2 separate regions of the Homo sapiens genome follow, and region 2 is linked to region 1. The links are contacts of gene promoters, found by promoter capture Hi-C in human tissues and cell types (Jung and others, 2019). All regions are on one chromosome and are shown on one strand. Each heading gives the region's core, a stretch centred on a gene start or on the middle of the fragment in contact. The rest is flanking DNA. Distances are from core to core; before and after follow the strand shown. Region 1 holds the start of ARHGAP11A (Rho GTPase activating protein 11A). Region 2 overlaps FMN1 (formin 1).

What was found. The method cuts DNA at HindIII sites, captures the fragments that hold promoters and counts their contacts. A contact is called where the count stands out against the background at its distance.
Region 2: a contact is called between a fragment that was not itself captured here and the fragment with the promoter of ARHGAP11A in region 1, in 4 of the 25 tissues and cell types used here (IMR-90 fibroblasts, dorsolateral prefrontal cortex, lymphoblastoid cells and 1 more).

The regions. Positions count from the first base shown.
Region 1 is chr15:32,611,150-32,618,887 of GRCh38, reverse strand. It overlaps ARHGAP11A (Rho GTPase activating protein 11A), which reads right to left and starts at 3,384. Exons shown (of 12, transcript NM_014783.6): 1 at 2,548-3,384. The coding sequence starts at 2,676. It overlaps ARHGAP11A-SCG5 (ARHGAP11A-SCG5 readthrough), which reads right to left and starts at 3,412. Exons shown (of 14, transcript NM_001368319.1): 1 at 2,548-3,412. The coding sequence starts at 2,676. ARHGAP11A-DT (ARHGAP11A divergent transcript) reads left to right here and starts at 4,142. Exons shown (of 3, transcript NR_135833.1): 1 at 4,142-4,451. The HindIII fragment of the contact is 9,261 bases long and covers 1-5,584 here.
Region 2 is chr15:32,860,591-32,868,328 of GRCh38, reverse strand. All of the region lies in intron 16 of FMN1 (formin 1), which reads left to right. Among named protein-coding and RNA genes, the nearest start is that of GREM1-AS1, 150 kb to the right of the region's middle. The HindIII fragment of the contact is 5,122 bases long and covers 1,667-6,788 here.

The sequences.
Region 1 (7,738 bases), core at 2,135-4,634:
GCTCCGCCTCCCGGGTTCACCCATTCTCCTGCCTCAGCTTCCCGAGTAGCTGGGACTACAGGCGCCCGCCACCACACCTGGCTAATTTTTTTGTATTTTTAGTAGAGACGTGGGGCGGGGGGGGGGGGGTTTCACCGTGTTAGCTAGGATGGTCTCGATCTCCTGACCTCGTTATCCACCCGCCTCGGCCTCCCAAAATGCTGGGATTACAGGCGTGAGCCATCGCACACACAAAAATGCCAGGCTTTACATCTTAACTCTTGCTTAACAGCTGAGTGACCTGGATCAAATTAACATTCTGTTCCTCGGTATCCTCACACAGATCCTAAGTCATAGAGGTGTAGGAAGAATTAAATAAATTAAAACATACAAAACACTTGTATCAGTGTCTGACACACAGTAAGCATTCAAAAAATATTTGTTAATATTATGATCATCATTTTAAGCTGAACTATTTTAAAAAATGTTAGTATGGGCAACCCCTTTATTGGGTAAATCAGAATTTTCTTGATACTGTGCAGCCAAACCAAATGTAAAAATAAACCAGATACTTAAGCTGGTAAGTCTACTTCTGCTATATATAACTAGAATTCAGCGTGTTTTTTTCCTTAAGTCTTATTATTTAGAATAACTGGCCTCACAAGTAACCACTATAATTTAATCTCATAAAATGTTTTTAAAACTTAAAACTACAGTTAGCTAACAAACACCAGTCGGCTAAAGAAATTGTTTTCAAACAAACTATCCCATTAGATCTCCTAACACAATGATCTTCTATATTTCTTCATTAGAATATTCTTATAAGTGTTTCTAGCTGAATTTATATGGCATGATTACCAATTAGGAGGCAGACCAATGATATGACAACTATCATTAGATGAAGAAGTGGCATGTTACCCGCACTGTGCTAGGCCTACATAAAGAGCTTCACTTTTTAAAAATCCCTAAATAATCCAAGGAGAAATACGTTCCCACTTTATATATATAAAACTGAAGCTTAGGGAAATCAAACAAGCAGCCCAAGTTTACAGATGTAGTAGGGGTGGAACAGCACTCAAACTCAGGTCTATCTGACTCTGAAAACAGGCAACAGTTTTTCTTGTTAAGCGGTGAAAAGGCCGAGTGCAGTGGCTCACGCCTGCCATCCCACCACTTTGGGAGGCCGAGGCGGGCGGATCACGAGGGCAGGAGATCGAGACCATCCTGGCTAACACGGTGAAATCCCGTCTCTACTAAAAAATACAAAAAATTAGCCAGGTGTGGTGGCGGGCGCCTGTAGTCCCAGCTACTCGGGAAGCTGAGGCAGGAGAATGGCGTGAACCCGGGAGGCAGAGCTTGCAGTGAGCCAAGATCGCGCCACTGCACTCCAGCCTGGGCGACAGAGGGAGACTCCATCTCAAAAAAAAAAAAAAAAAAGGAAAAGAAAAGAAAAGGGGTGAAAAAAAGTCCATATACAAACTCTTCCATATACTTACAAAATCAGCTACATTTGAGATCTTGGAAAGCCAGTTTTACAATCAGAAAAAAATCACTGTAGCTTTTTAAATGTAAGTACATGTATTGCCATTAATTTGCTACCAACAAAAATAACTTCTCCAAAGTTTATCAGCGATTAAGAGGCACACATATTACTTTTGTTAGTGGTTTTCTTCTCCAAGCACTTTTTTTAAGAAACCATAAACTATTAAAAGCAACGTATATTAATTTTATTAGCTTGTCTCCAAGTACTAGGAAGTACCATATAAATTAGGCACATAAATTTAAAATAAAATGCTTTACATTCAGCTTATTTTTCACAATGGAATTCCTGATTATGTGGCAGAGCTATTAAAATCTCATTCAAAATCCCTTTATTTCAACCACCAAAACATCAACAACTTCTCAATTATTCCACTCTGGCTTCTCAATTTACTCATACAAAAAAAAATTTACTGTCCCAAAAGTATGACATGGCCAAGCAGCAAATCTGTTTCCCAAATTAGTGAATATGCAGTCATCATTTGAAGCCTATTTCTAATGTTCTGTCATACTTCTTCATCTACAGATTCATGTAGAAAATGCACTGGTCTCCCTTGTCCCTCTACAACCTTACTCTAAAACAAGGGTGGAGGGGTAGAGTTTTTGTCCCTCCCAACGTACTACCTGTTCCAAATACAGTAAGCTGGCAATATCCGGAGACATTTTTAATTGTCACAACTGAGAGATGCTACCAGCATCTAGTGGGTAAAAGACAGACATCCCGCTAAACATCCCACAATTCACAGAACAGCATTTCGTCTTCCCCTAACAAAAATTATCTAATCCAAAATGTCAATAGTGCTGAAGTTGGAAAATCCTGCAACTTTCTCTCAATGATCAAAAATCCTTGGGGGAAAAAAAACAAGAATGTCACTTTTTAAATATCAGCAATCGACCATCTGAACTGAATTACACACCTAACCATTCTTTTTGATACACAGAGTGAACATTTTAGCACGATCTGGTAGTAAGTGATGATAAAGGGTGTGCCCTTTCTTTTAAACCTAAATCCCTTTTCACAGAACTTACCCCTATTTCCGTGGCTGCTGTTTCATGTCTCCTGCGATCGCACTGCCCACGGACACCCTTCACCTTAATACCATAGAAGGCCCGCAGATGCTGCAACAGGGCCAACCTCACCAGCCTCTGATCCCACATTCCGGATACGTCGATAACTCTCTGAGGCAGGATGCAGGTCCTGACCCTCGTTCGCCACCAAGTCTTCCAATTTCCAAACGCTCTCAAATTTGAACTCCGCTCGGCTGCTTTCCGGCCCCGTCTGGCACTTCTGCGGCCCCGACCCCCGGCCACTTCCACGGCTTTTCCTTGATCCTCACTCACATCCACTTACACAGACCCGCTTCTCTTAGCCCTTTGATCCAGCCACACCTCACTCTTCCTTCACTTACACCGACCTTCTTTCTGGTCACCCAATGCTTTCAGCTACTCACATAGACTTCTTTCTGATTCTTTCGGTTTCTCGTCTATTGCCAGATTCTCTCCACTTCTTGCTACTTCCAACGATCCCCCTTCCTCCAAACCTTACTGTCCCCGTCTGGTTCGCTCTGAAATGTGAAGAAAACCCTTCTCGCTCCTCCAGCCCCAGCAGGCTCAACTGGGCGCTCGCCCCCGCCCTAGCCTGGCCGCCGGACCAGCCGGCTGCTCAGGCAACTCTTCCAGTCCCGGTGCCCGCCCGGGCTGGTAGCCGCCGTCACCCCGTCTCACAGGCTGCTCGTTCCCTCCCCCATCAGCCTGCCTCTACCTCCCGGCCTGCACATCCCGGTGCGTTCACTGAAGCCAAGCCGTTAGCCTCATGCTTCCGCCCCCAGCTCCTCCGCAGACACCCAGAGCCACCACGGGGGGGTCACACCCGCAGTTTCAGCCCAGGCTCAAATGGCAGCGCGAAACAGCGCTCCACATCTGATTGGTCCACTCCTCTTTTCAAAATCAGGACCCCGGAGGGTGGCCGAGAGCTGCCTGTCTAGATAAGTGCGGGCGAAGGGGTGTAACGGGCAAACCCAGCAAACATGAAAAGCAGGATGAGTTTCACTTGTTCCTTCAAGGCCAGTTTTTGGGGCGGGGGAATACTGTTTAAAGGTTTTTAAATACACCTGACCTGCGCCTCAGACCATTCACAGTATTTGAGGAAATATAAAAGACAACTTATTCCCGTTCTTTTCCGAGCTTGGCTGTCGCTGAAGGCCCTCTTATGAAGAAACCGTTCTTACGGAAGCCCAGATGAGACAACTTGAGACAGGATTCAGAAACGCTGATTTTAGTAACCTTAACCCTCGGCCCTTGGTGGGAACTTCGGCTCTGTGGGAATTAGTCTTTGGGGGACTGATGGTCATGCTGAAATCTTATTGCGTAGGAAATTAAGTACAACAAAGAAGACCCGTCGTGAGAGGAGAGTGCGGAAGAAATGCGAAGTCTACGGGAGGTGGCAGCTGCAGAAGCTTGGTGTTGGATTTGGCGTTAGGAGACCGGGAGGAGCCCAGCTTCCGGTCCAGACGGTTATCTTGTTGACTTGCACGACTGCAAACGCCCTGAGCTGCTTTTGCAGTCTGAAACATCAGCGATCCCATCAAAATATTCTGTTTCTTGGGATATAAGAAACATCCCAAGGCGGGCTGTAGAGCGAGAGATTTGGACTCGATTTAAATACAGACAAAATAGTATGCATTTACTAACACCACATCTCACCCCCACGAAACTTGGTAAGGGCAGCAACAGAACTTTATCTGCCATATGCACTCCTGTATTCCTATTACCAAATAGTGCCAGGGACTAAGTGAATATTTGTCCAATGAATGAGTTTTAAGTAGGAAACGTTTGCATAGAATCATTTTGTTTCTTTTGGAGTTCAAATCTTCGGATATTTTACCCTTCCCAATCCAAAGAAAAGTCTCTGAGTGAAGAGATGGGAACAAAATGTAAGTTAAATATGTTGCTTTAACAACTGTTTATTGAACTCGTGCTATAGACTATAGAATGATGAGCAAAACCAGGCACAGTTTCGGCCCTGGAAGAGGAAAGGCAGGCATATATTTATCAAGTAAGTACATTAATGGCGGCACTTATCAGTTGAGAGAAGTGCGCTAAGGAAAGGAATATGATTCTATGATAGCGTATAATAAAAGATCCTTGACCGGGGAGGGGAAACGTACCAGTGATTAACTGATCTGAAGAATCAGTATAAATTGACTTTGTAGAAAGTATAGGTGGATGGCTGAGTGGGACCATCATTCAGGAAGCAAATGCCTGCAGAAAAAAACATCAATTTTAACAAGAAACGGTGTATCAGAGATGAAACTGAACCTATTCCTTGTCTTTTCTTCTTGCTTCAGACATAACTTTAAAAAATTGCTTACGCTGTCTTTAGCCACATCTCTTCCCCAAACTCCACACTGTTCGGCGTTTTAGCCGTCTCAAATTTCCTTTTCTTAAAGACCCATGACAATCTTCAGTGTTGTGTCTTTTTCTACGTCGTGATCCTTTTTTAAAGCTGAGCTCTTCTTGTTTTTCGTCTCCTTTCTCTTTTTTTTTTTTTTTTTTTGTGATGGAGTCTCGCTCTGTCGCCCAGGCTGGAGTGCAGTTGCACAATTTCGGCTCACTGCAAACTCCACCTCCCACGTTCAAGCAATTCTCTGCCTCAGCCTCCCAAGCAGCTGGGATTACAGGCGTCTGCCAGCAGGCCCGGCTAATTTTTGTATGTTTAGTAGAGACGGTGTTTCACCATTTTGGCCAGGCTGGTCCTGAACTCCTGACCTCGTGATCCACCCGCCTCGGCCTCCCAAAGTGCTGGGATTACAGGTGTGAGCCACCACATCCGGCCCTTCCTTTCTCTTAAGATGAAAATATTGGTTCTTTTTTCCTACACACAAGGAGGCAATGAAAATATTGGTTCTTTTCATTGCCTTATTATTAATGTTACTATTAATAAATATTAATATTAACATAATGGTTATTTGCTTCATCTACCTATATTCACAGGTATATAAACACAACAATAGCAATAACAGGATAAAGAATAAAAACAGAATAACAATAGAGATATTGCTAACAGATAAATGAAGTTTAACTTTGCATGTACTTCCTTTTTTCTAAAATTGTATCCAACTAAGGATGTAAAATCAAGATACTGTGTTTTAAATGAACTGGGCATAATTATTCTTTTTGGTTATATATGGATGTACTGTAGTTTATTTAGCCAGGCCCTTACTAGTGGATATGTTGGCTATTCCCAGTCTTTTGCTATACAAAAGTTTCCTTGTGCATATATAATATGCTTTTGCCAGTGGGTCTTTAGCATAGATTTCTATAAATGGGATTGTTAGGTCAAAGGGTAAAAGAACATGTTATTTTGTTTAATTCTGCCAAATTCCCCTTCATAGGGGTTGTGCAGTTTTGTATTCACACCAGCAGCATTTCCTGTTTCTCTGCAGCCTCTCCAATAGAATGAATTGTCAAACTCCTAGATGTTTGCTAAATCGATATGTGGGAAATGTTATCAAAGTGTAGTTTTTTTTTTTTTTTTTTTGAGACGGAGTCTCACTCTGTTGCCCAGGCTGGAGTTCAGTGGCTCTATCTTGGCTCACTGCAACTTCTGCCTCCCAGGTTCAAGCGATTCTCCTGCCTCAACCTCCTGAGTAGCTGGGACCACAGGCAATCACCACCACGCCTGGCTAATTTTTGTAATTTTAGTAGAGACAGGGTTTCGCCATGTTGGCCAGGCTGGTCTCGAACTTCTGACCTCAACCTATCCACTCACCTCGGCCTCGCAAAGTGCTGAGTTTACAGGCATGAGCGACTGCGCCCAGCCTCCAGTATAGTTTTGTATTTATCTTTTTGTCAATGAAGTGGAACATTTTTTCAAATGATGCATGCTTACGACAAAGTATTATGAAGCTGTTAAGGAATGTGGAAGATATATGACTATGATGTGAAGTGAAGTGAAAAAGCAAGGCATAAAAGAGTGTATATAGTATGCTGCCTTTGGTATACGGGGTGGTAGAGATACATATACAAATGGATACTTACTTATATTTTCAAAAATAAACAATAGAAAGGTAAACCAAAATCTAATAAAAATGGTAAACAATAGGAGAAGATCAAGAACAGGTGAAGTAGAAAATAGGAATGGAAGCTAGACCTCTCTGAATATATCTTGTTTTATATATAAACTTGGAACCCTGTAAATGTGTAACATGTTTAAAATACAAAATAAGGTGGTGGCTCACGCCTGTAATCCCAGCACATTGGGAGGCCGAGGTGAACGGATCACCTGAGGTCAGGAGTTCGAGACCAGCCTGGCCAACGTGGTGAAACCCCGTCTCTACTAAAAATACAAAGATTAGCCATGCGTGGTGATGCATGCCTGTAATCCCAGCTTCTCGGGAGGCTGAGACAGGAGAATCGCTTGAACCTGGGAGGCGGAGGTTGCAGTGAGCCAAGATCCGGCCACTGCACTTCAGCCTGGGTGACACAGTGAGACTCCATCTAAACAAAATAATAATAAATAAAATAAAATAAAATAAAATGTAAAAGCAACTCCTAAAATGGAAAACAAAGTGCAATAAATCAATCTTTTCACCTGTTTAAGGGCTATTTGTACTTCTTTTTATTTAAATTGTCCATCTTTTACTTTCAGGATGGTCTTTAAAAATATTTTAGAAGCTTTTTATATATTAGTCCCTCATGATATAAGCTACATATATTTTTTAGACTTTTTGCCTTGCTTTTTTGTTTGTTTAAATTATAGTTAATCTCTTCCCTTAATGCTTCTGGATTCTGATCATAGATAGGAGTATTTTCCCCACTTCTGAGTTATAAAGGTATTCACTCTTGTGAATTCTAGTACTTAATTTTCTAGTACTGCTATGTTTTCATTTGTTAATGTTAGATCTCTGAGGCTGGAGTGCAGTGATGCGACCTCTGCTCACTGCAACCTTCACCTCCCGGGTTCAGATGATTCTCCTGTCTCAGCCTCCTGAGTAGCTGAGACTACAGGTGCATGCCACCACACCTGGCTAATTTTTGTGTTTTTAGTAGAGACGAGGTTTCGCCATATTGGCCAGGCTGGTCTTGAACTCCTGACCTTAGGTGATCTGTCTGCCTCTGCCTCCCAAAGTGCTGGAATTACAGGCGTGAGGCACCGCGCCCGGTCCTTAAATTTGGAATTTATCCAGTGTAGAAAGAATGGATCCAATTTTATGTGTTA
Region 2 (7,738 bases), core at 2,978-5,477, 250 kb before region 1:
GTACTACTGGCTGTACTATACTGTAACTGTATTCAGTATTCTGCTGAATACTGTAGGCAATTATAACACAATGGTAAGCATTTGTGTATCTAAACAAAGGAAAGGTAATGCCTTGCTCTACAGTGTTACAAAGGCTACATCATCACCGGACTATCAGAATTTTTCAGCTTCATTATAATTTTATGGCACCATTGTTTTATATGTGGTCCATTATTGACAGAAGCATCATTCTGAGGTACATGAGTGTACATGTACTACAGCCAAATTCTGTCAAGACACTAATATCCATACTGCACATGTGTAAGTTTCTCCCCTTTAACTGGTAGTTTATTCATTTATTTAGCAAATACCCATGGAACAGCTTTCACTAGATAGACATTACAGTAGATGCTGGAGATTTAACAGTAAGAAAAATACAGTTTCTGCCTAATGAGGGAGACAATCCAATAATCATGAAAAGGGGAAAGGTATACAGTGCTATGACTTTGTAACAGAGGGTCTCTCATCACAGAATGGAAGGTGGAAAAGAAATCCTGATGGCCGGGCGCGGTGGCTCACGCCTGTAATCCCAGCACTTTGGGAGGCCGAGGCGGGCAGATCACGAGGTCAGGAGATTGAGACCATCCCGGCTAACATGGTGAAACCCCGTCTCTACTAAAAATACAAAAAATTAGCCTTTGCACAGGGAGCGGGGGGCAGGGGGCTGAGGCAGGAGAATGGCGTGAACCCATGAGGCGGAGCTTGCAGTGAGCCGAGGAGATCACACGACTGCACTCCAGCCTGGGTGAAAGAGCGAGACTCCGTCTCAAAAAAAAAAAACCTGATGAGACTTCTGAGCTGAGGTCGTAATGATGACTAAGCACTGACTAGGTCCTGGTTACTAGGAAGTGAAGGAGAGTGGCATAGCAGGAGAACACCATAATGGGAAGAAGTGAGCATGTTTGAGGAATGGAAAGAAGGGCCACTGTGGCAGGGAGAGCAGGGTGAGGCTGGGAAGGCAGGCAAGACGTAGCGCATGGAGGGCCTTGCAGGCCAGCTTGAGGGATTGAAGACAACCTCTCAGAGTAATAGAGGTGCCTGCAGGTTTAAGCAGGGGACTGGCATAATGAGATTTTATAAAGGTCACTTTGACTCAGGTATGGAGAACAAATCAGAGAGAGGCAGGGTGGATATGGGAAGAACAGTTAGGCTGAGACTATAGCAGCCTGGTGAAGAGTAATGAATTCAGGAGTTCCGTAGGAGGTGAAACTGTGGGCTAGCTGTGTAAACTTGGGAGACACATCCCAGATATGGTTACTGAAATGTTTACCTGGATGACATTGTCTAGACAGAGAGCATAGCATGGGAGGAGGAGCAGCCTTATGCCAAACCCTAGAGAACTTTAACGTTTAATGACTCTGTATAGGAAGATGAGGCTGCATAGGAAACAGGGCAGGCAGAAGTAGGAGGAAAGCCCACAATGGGGAACACAGACGCTAAGGGACAAAGTGTTTTACAAAGGAGAAGTAGTCAAGATGCAGAATCCTGCTGGGTTGTCAGCGAAGGAGATACAAAATGAGGACACTGCCCACAGGATGGGTTAATTAGTGACTTCAGAGTGCTTTCTCAGTGTCACAATGGGGAGGAAGTAAATTTCAGTGGGTCATGAAACAAGAAATAGGAAAAAGTGAGTATTGCAAATTTTAAAAGACAGTTGGACTGGGAAAATGATTAGACTGTAACATGATTTGTTTATTAAACACACAAACATTAGGAATGTCAGTTATTCAAAGAGTTTGTGAGGTTGCTGTTATTGTTTAGCTCTTCTTGGAAACAAAGAATAAAGCCGCGTACAGTATGTTATCTAGCCAGCCTTTCTACTGTTTGATTATTTAAAATAGCTGAAGAATATTTTGGCTAGCGTTTTACTATTCAGCATACAAAATGCTTTTTTTTCACATGTTTATTTAGTCCTCACAAGATTTTATGTATCAAGAAACTAAGAGTCAGATATTAAATAACTTTTCCAGCCAAATAGAGTGTATGAAAAACTAAGAATAAATGCATCTTTAAATCAAGAGTAGTTCAAAGGGGAAATTTTTTTTCTTTTTTCTTTTTTTTTATTATACTTTAAGTTCTAGGGTACATGTGCACAACGTGCAGGTTTGTTACATATGTATAGATTTGTCATGTTGGTGTGCTGTACCCATTAACTCGTCATTTACATTAGGTATATCTCCTAATGCTATCCCTCCCCACTCCCGCCACCCCACAACAGGCCCCGTTGTGTGATGTTCCTCAAAGGGGAAATTTTTCTAATGTACCAATTGTTGGTGTATATGTGTAAATATATATACATAGCTGTATGCCACAATTAAGAATGTGCGAAAGCTATTGTTTTAATTTTCCAAAAGTTAGCACTTTTAATTTAAATGCTTTACTTGTATTTCTATTATTGAGTTCAGTTATTTTTAGTAGGTATTTTATTTTATTTTATTTTTTTTTTTTTTTTTGAGGTGGAGTTTCACTCTTGTTGCCCAGGCTGGAGTGCAATGGCATGATCTCAGCTTACCACAACTTCCGCCTCCCAGGTTCAGGTGATTCTCCTGCCTCAGCCTCCTGAGTAGCTGGGATTACAGGCATGCGCCACCACGCCTGGCTAATTTTGTATTTTTAGTAGAGACAGGGTTTCTCCATGTTGATTAGGCTGGTCTCGAACTCCCAACCTCAGGTGATCTGCCCGCCTTGTCCTCCCAAAGTGCTGGGATCACAGGCGTGAGCCACCTTGCCCGGCCAGGTCTTTTATTTTAATAACGTTTGTTGCTACTTTTTGAAGATTGACTAATATGTTTAATTTCTCAATTACATGTGCATCTCAAACTCATTTCCCACTTTTGATTCCTAGTTTAGTAATATTGTAAGTATTATAATGAAGACATAGTTGCACCTAAGATTTTTAAAATTATTTACCTTATATAAAGAAGTACAGATGAGGCATTCTTCATTTATCTGTTCATTATAGTTCCAGTTTAAGGCTGACTTTCTAATTAGCTTTAGGCAGCTTTATTAAGATGAAATCACATTCCACATAATTCACCCATTTAAAGTGTACAATCTGATGACTTTTGGTGTATTCACAAAGTTGTACAACCATTGCCACAATCAATTTTTTGAAATTTTTATTACTCCAAAAGGAAAACTTTTCTCCCTTACCCCCTTAGCTGTCACCTCTCTCTCTCTCCCTCTTTCTCTCCTAGTCCTCAGCCACTACTAATCCGCTTTGTCTCTATAGATTTGCCTACTGGGACATTTCATGTGAGTAGAATCATAGGATATGTGGTCTCTTGTGATTGGCTTTTCTTACTTAGCATAATGTTTTCAACGTTCTTCTATGTAGTAGTATGTACTTGTACTTCATTTGTTTTAATGGCCAAATATTTCATTCTGTGTATAAAGTATATTTTATTTATCCATTTATCAGACGATGGATGGGCATTTGGATTGTTTCTACTTCTTGGAGTATACTAAAGCTCTATTCACTAAGTACAATGTTCTAATTAGCTTTTGAGGCATAGACACTATGTATGTGTAGATATAAAAAGGCACTTGTTTGTCTATAAAAAGGCACTTGTTTGTCTAAGTCCATGTATGTAGCTACATTATTCTGAGATAATATTTTGACCTGGGTTCCATGTGTCTAAAGCCTGTGTTTTAACTTGAATGGACAACTGGGAATTCGGAGTTTTTTGACCACTTTAAATATAGTGTCTTGCCTTTGGATGAATAGAGTCATTAGGAGGAAAAATTTGCATATGATGTCAGGTGAATCCCCAAACCAAGGTTAAAGAAGGAAAACACCTTTGGTTACATATAGATTTTCCACATATGGGTCATTAATGCACAGTTGTCTGATTTGAGCTGAGAAATGTGGGCTTTGAAGGGCTATTTAGTAGAAAATGGGTGTAGCAGTCCCTTTCAAAATCTAACTTATGTCGGTGTCTCCTTGAATAGATTTCCCCTTTGCCCTCTCCTAGTTATCCTCACCCTGTGATTTCCAGTAATACCACTCCCTACTCTTAACCCTGCCAAGATTTAAAATACTCCTGCTGTGTAGCATCAGACCTCAAGAACATGAAATAGGTACTTTTTATTGCAGGCTTCTGTCATTTGTTTTTGGCTTAAATCAACTTGAAACCTCCCTTTGTGTGGCCTTTTCTATATGGCCTTATAAAAAAGTGTGTACAGTAGATAGCCACAAAATAGTACCTTCTCATTTGTGCCAAGCTTTAATAAGCAAATGAAAAAATATCTAATATTTTATTAATTGTAAGTATGATTTTCCCCTTTCATAGAAGTCCATGCATTGCTGCTAGCCAAAATAAAATATTACTGTTCTAACTTTAGTATTTTATTACATTGCATTTCATGTAATTCCTTAGTCAGTTTAAGGCCAATGCCATAAGAAGAAAATTGTGCAAGTTAAGCTAATATTGAGATTCTGAGTTCTGAATTTGTTTTTACATTTGTTTTGATAAAAGTGTGTTTGGGGGCAGGAAGCTAAAAGGACATTCACTTTTTCTAACCACGTCCTCCCACCCCACCACCAGGAAGTGCACTAGACGGTCCTGTTCTTACTAAAGGGATTAAAGTAGAAAAGATGAACATGGAAGGAAATAACTCGTAGGTTTGCCTGCAGTTCAAGTTACTAGAAACAATAATTACTGCGTGCCATACCCATTAAGAAATCTTAGTTGGTGACCCATTCACTATAATGTCTGAGGGCAGAGAATTTAGTCTGTTTCTTTTGCTGATGGAACCCCAATATCTGACACAATTTATGGCACGTAGTAGGTGCTCAGTAGACATGTGTTGAATTGATGTGTTTATTTATTTTATTTTATTTATTTATTTATTTTGAGATGGAGTCTCGCTCTGTCGCCCAGGCTGGAGTGCAGTGGCACAATCTCGGCTCACTGCAAGCTCCGCCTCCCGGGTTCACGCCATTCTCCTGCCTCAGCCTCCCGAGTTGGGACTACAGGTGCCCGCCACCACGCCCAGCTAATTTTTTGTATTTTTAGTAGAGATGGGGTTTCACCGTGTTAGGCAGGATGGTCTCCTGACCTCGTGATCCGCCCGCCTCGGCCTCCCAAAGTGCTGGGATTACAGGCGTGAGCCACCGCGCCTAGCCGAACTGATGTATTTATTGAATGGATTCCTGTATGATAAACTCCTTAACCAAGCATTCTAGGCTTTTGATCTCTGGCTTCACTTTATGTCTCTCATCTAAGCCCCATTGATATAATACAAGAATTTGCTTTAGTAAAAAAATTCCATATGTTGCTGCAGCCATTTTCTATGGCGGTCCTTTGAGCAGGGAGCTTGTGAACAGGACATGGATCTTGTAAAAGTGAGGAAGAGGCAGAACTGGCGCAGGACTGTGGAAGGGTGGGGTAAGACTTAGGTAACCAGACAGGGAAGAAGAGAGAACTCTGGAAAAGCAGATAGCCTGATAAACCTTTCCTTTCCTCTAAAACTGTATTCTGACTTAACTAAGCCCACAGGTCCTTCAGCTCATACAAAAAGAAACAAGTTTCATATCTTCATACCAATTGCCCACATACATTTGATTTACAAAGCAATTAAACGTATTTGATTTTGATGAATTATATCTGGGTCTTACTGCTACATTTTTCTAACCTGCCTAGGCTTTTTAAGTGGCTTAATAAGCTTTATTCCCTTGTTCTTAGGGGTGAAAAACAAAAAACAGATAATTCTGACCTTAACAGCCTAATATCTGAAATATTAAAATAGTCTAGGCCATATCTTTCCTTTCACTAAAATACTCCACCAGTGTTTAACCTGTAAGTGAAAATATTCTCCATGTAGTCTCAGTTATTTCACTATGTATTGGTTTTTAATATTTCATCTCTGTCTCACAGTGATCACTTAGTAGTAACTAACTTCGGAAATTAATATATTTTTAATTGCCAAAAAATTGTGTAAAGAGAAAAATAACAGAAAGAGAACCTGGGGTGACTTTGGCTTTTAACTGGAGCTCCTGGCACAGCCCACGCCTGAGGCAACCTTGGTGGTCTAGCAATATCGTATGCGAGTCTTCCGGTTGAACAGTGAAGGACATTTGTGGATCTGTCCATGACCTCTCTCCTTTATGCACTGCCAGTCTCCGGTGTCATCATTAATTAGCCTTCAGGTCTCCCATTTGTCTGCTAGAAAGCATCTCGGATAAGCCAAGTCAATAAATTGGAGCAGGCAAGCTGCCTGGCCTCCGGGGCGCGTGGCTCTGTGGGGACCGTCGGAGGGCAGCCCTCTCCTTTGATCATGTGGGGAAGTTTAATTCTTACAGGCCACGTGGGAATCCCAGCCCGTGGGGCTGCAGAGAGGGCCTTGGAGCACAGCAGTGGAGCTGCTCTCGTTTGTACTGGTTTCAGTTTCTAATTTCAAAACCGCGAAGCTCAGAGGCCTAGGGGAATTGTTTCCCATTTTGCTTCGTCTTTCCCCAAGACTTCGCCTGCATTCTTCAGTGAATTCTCACAATGGGTGGTGGAACTTCAGCACGGGAATGAAAATCATTATCCCTATGTTCTAAACAGGAGATTTGCACCGTGGCATATTTCCGTAAATACAGTGCCCAGCATCTGTAGCAAATAATCCCCAGCCATGACTCTCTTGCTGTTCTGACCTTGACATGTTTCCCAACCAATTTTAGTCAAACATAAAAATAACAAATAATATTTATGAGCCTGCTTGTGAGTGCCAGGCATTCTGCAAATCACTATGTATGTATTATCTTAAATATCATATCATGCCTGTGTTGCGGGAGGTCCCCATTTTGCAGATGAGAAAAACAAGCCACAGCCCACCTGAGTCCTAGTGGGTCTCAATCCAAGCACAAGCTCTTTACCACCCCCATGATATGGCCTCATAAAATTGGAGCAATTTGATGGGCACCGCATGGGCTCTGTCACCACATCTAGCACAAAGGGAGAGCTGCAGCGATCAACCCTGTGAATTCAGGCAAAAGAGAAAGTATTGCTTTTGTAATTGGGGAAACAAGCTCTGCCTTCAGCTTTGCTTTCACCAGGGAGAAGTAACCTTGAAGGAGTTATTGTCAGGCGTTCGATTATATCCTATTAGTAAATTGCAGGCATGTTTTATACTACGTTCATGAAAAACAATTCTATATAAATGAAATTGTTGGAATTTGAATATAGTAGAGGGTTAATTAAATAATTTAAGGAACTCCTCCCAATTTATATTGTGGGAAATCCTAGCTTTTCTTTAACTGTATTCTCAGAATCATAGCTGGAAATAATCAGGAAAGTTTATGTGGCCACAAATGTTCATTGAGAAATGCTGATTCCTTAAAACAGATGTCTTTCCTGCTTCCCTGCCTACCTTGAGAACTACCCAATCAGGATAATCATCTTTGTTACCTTTGTTACCTTGCTTATGACTCATGGGATGAGGTGGTGGACATTTCTGGGGGTCTTTAAAATACACTCAAACCTTAGATCATCTTGGGACACCTCACCATGTTTGAGGAGTACAGAGACACAGAGACGGTGACCCCTTGGTGCAGGGGAAGGGCAAGCAAGTCACATTGCATCTCTGGAAAGCCCACTTGGAGTCTGGGTCAACATTGCTAATATGTATGTATATATATTTTTTAGACAGGAGACAGGGTCTCACCCTGTGAGACTAGGCTGGAGTGCAGAGGTGTGGTCATGGCTTATTGCAG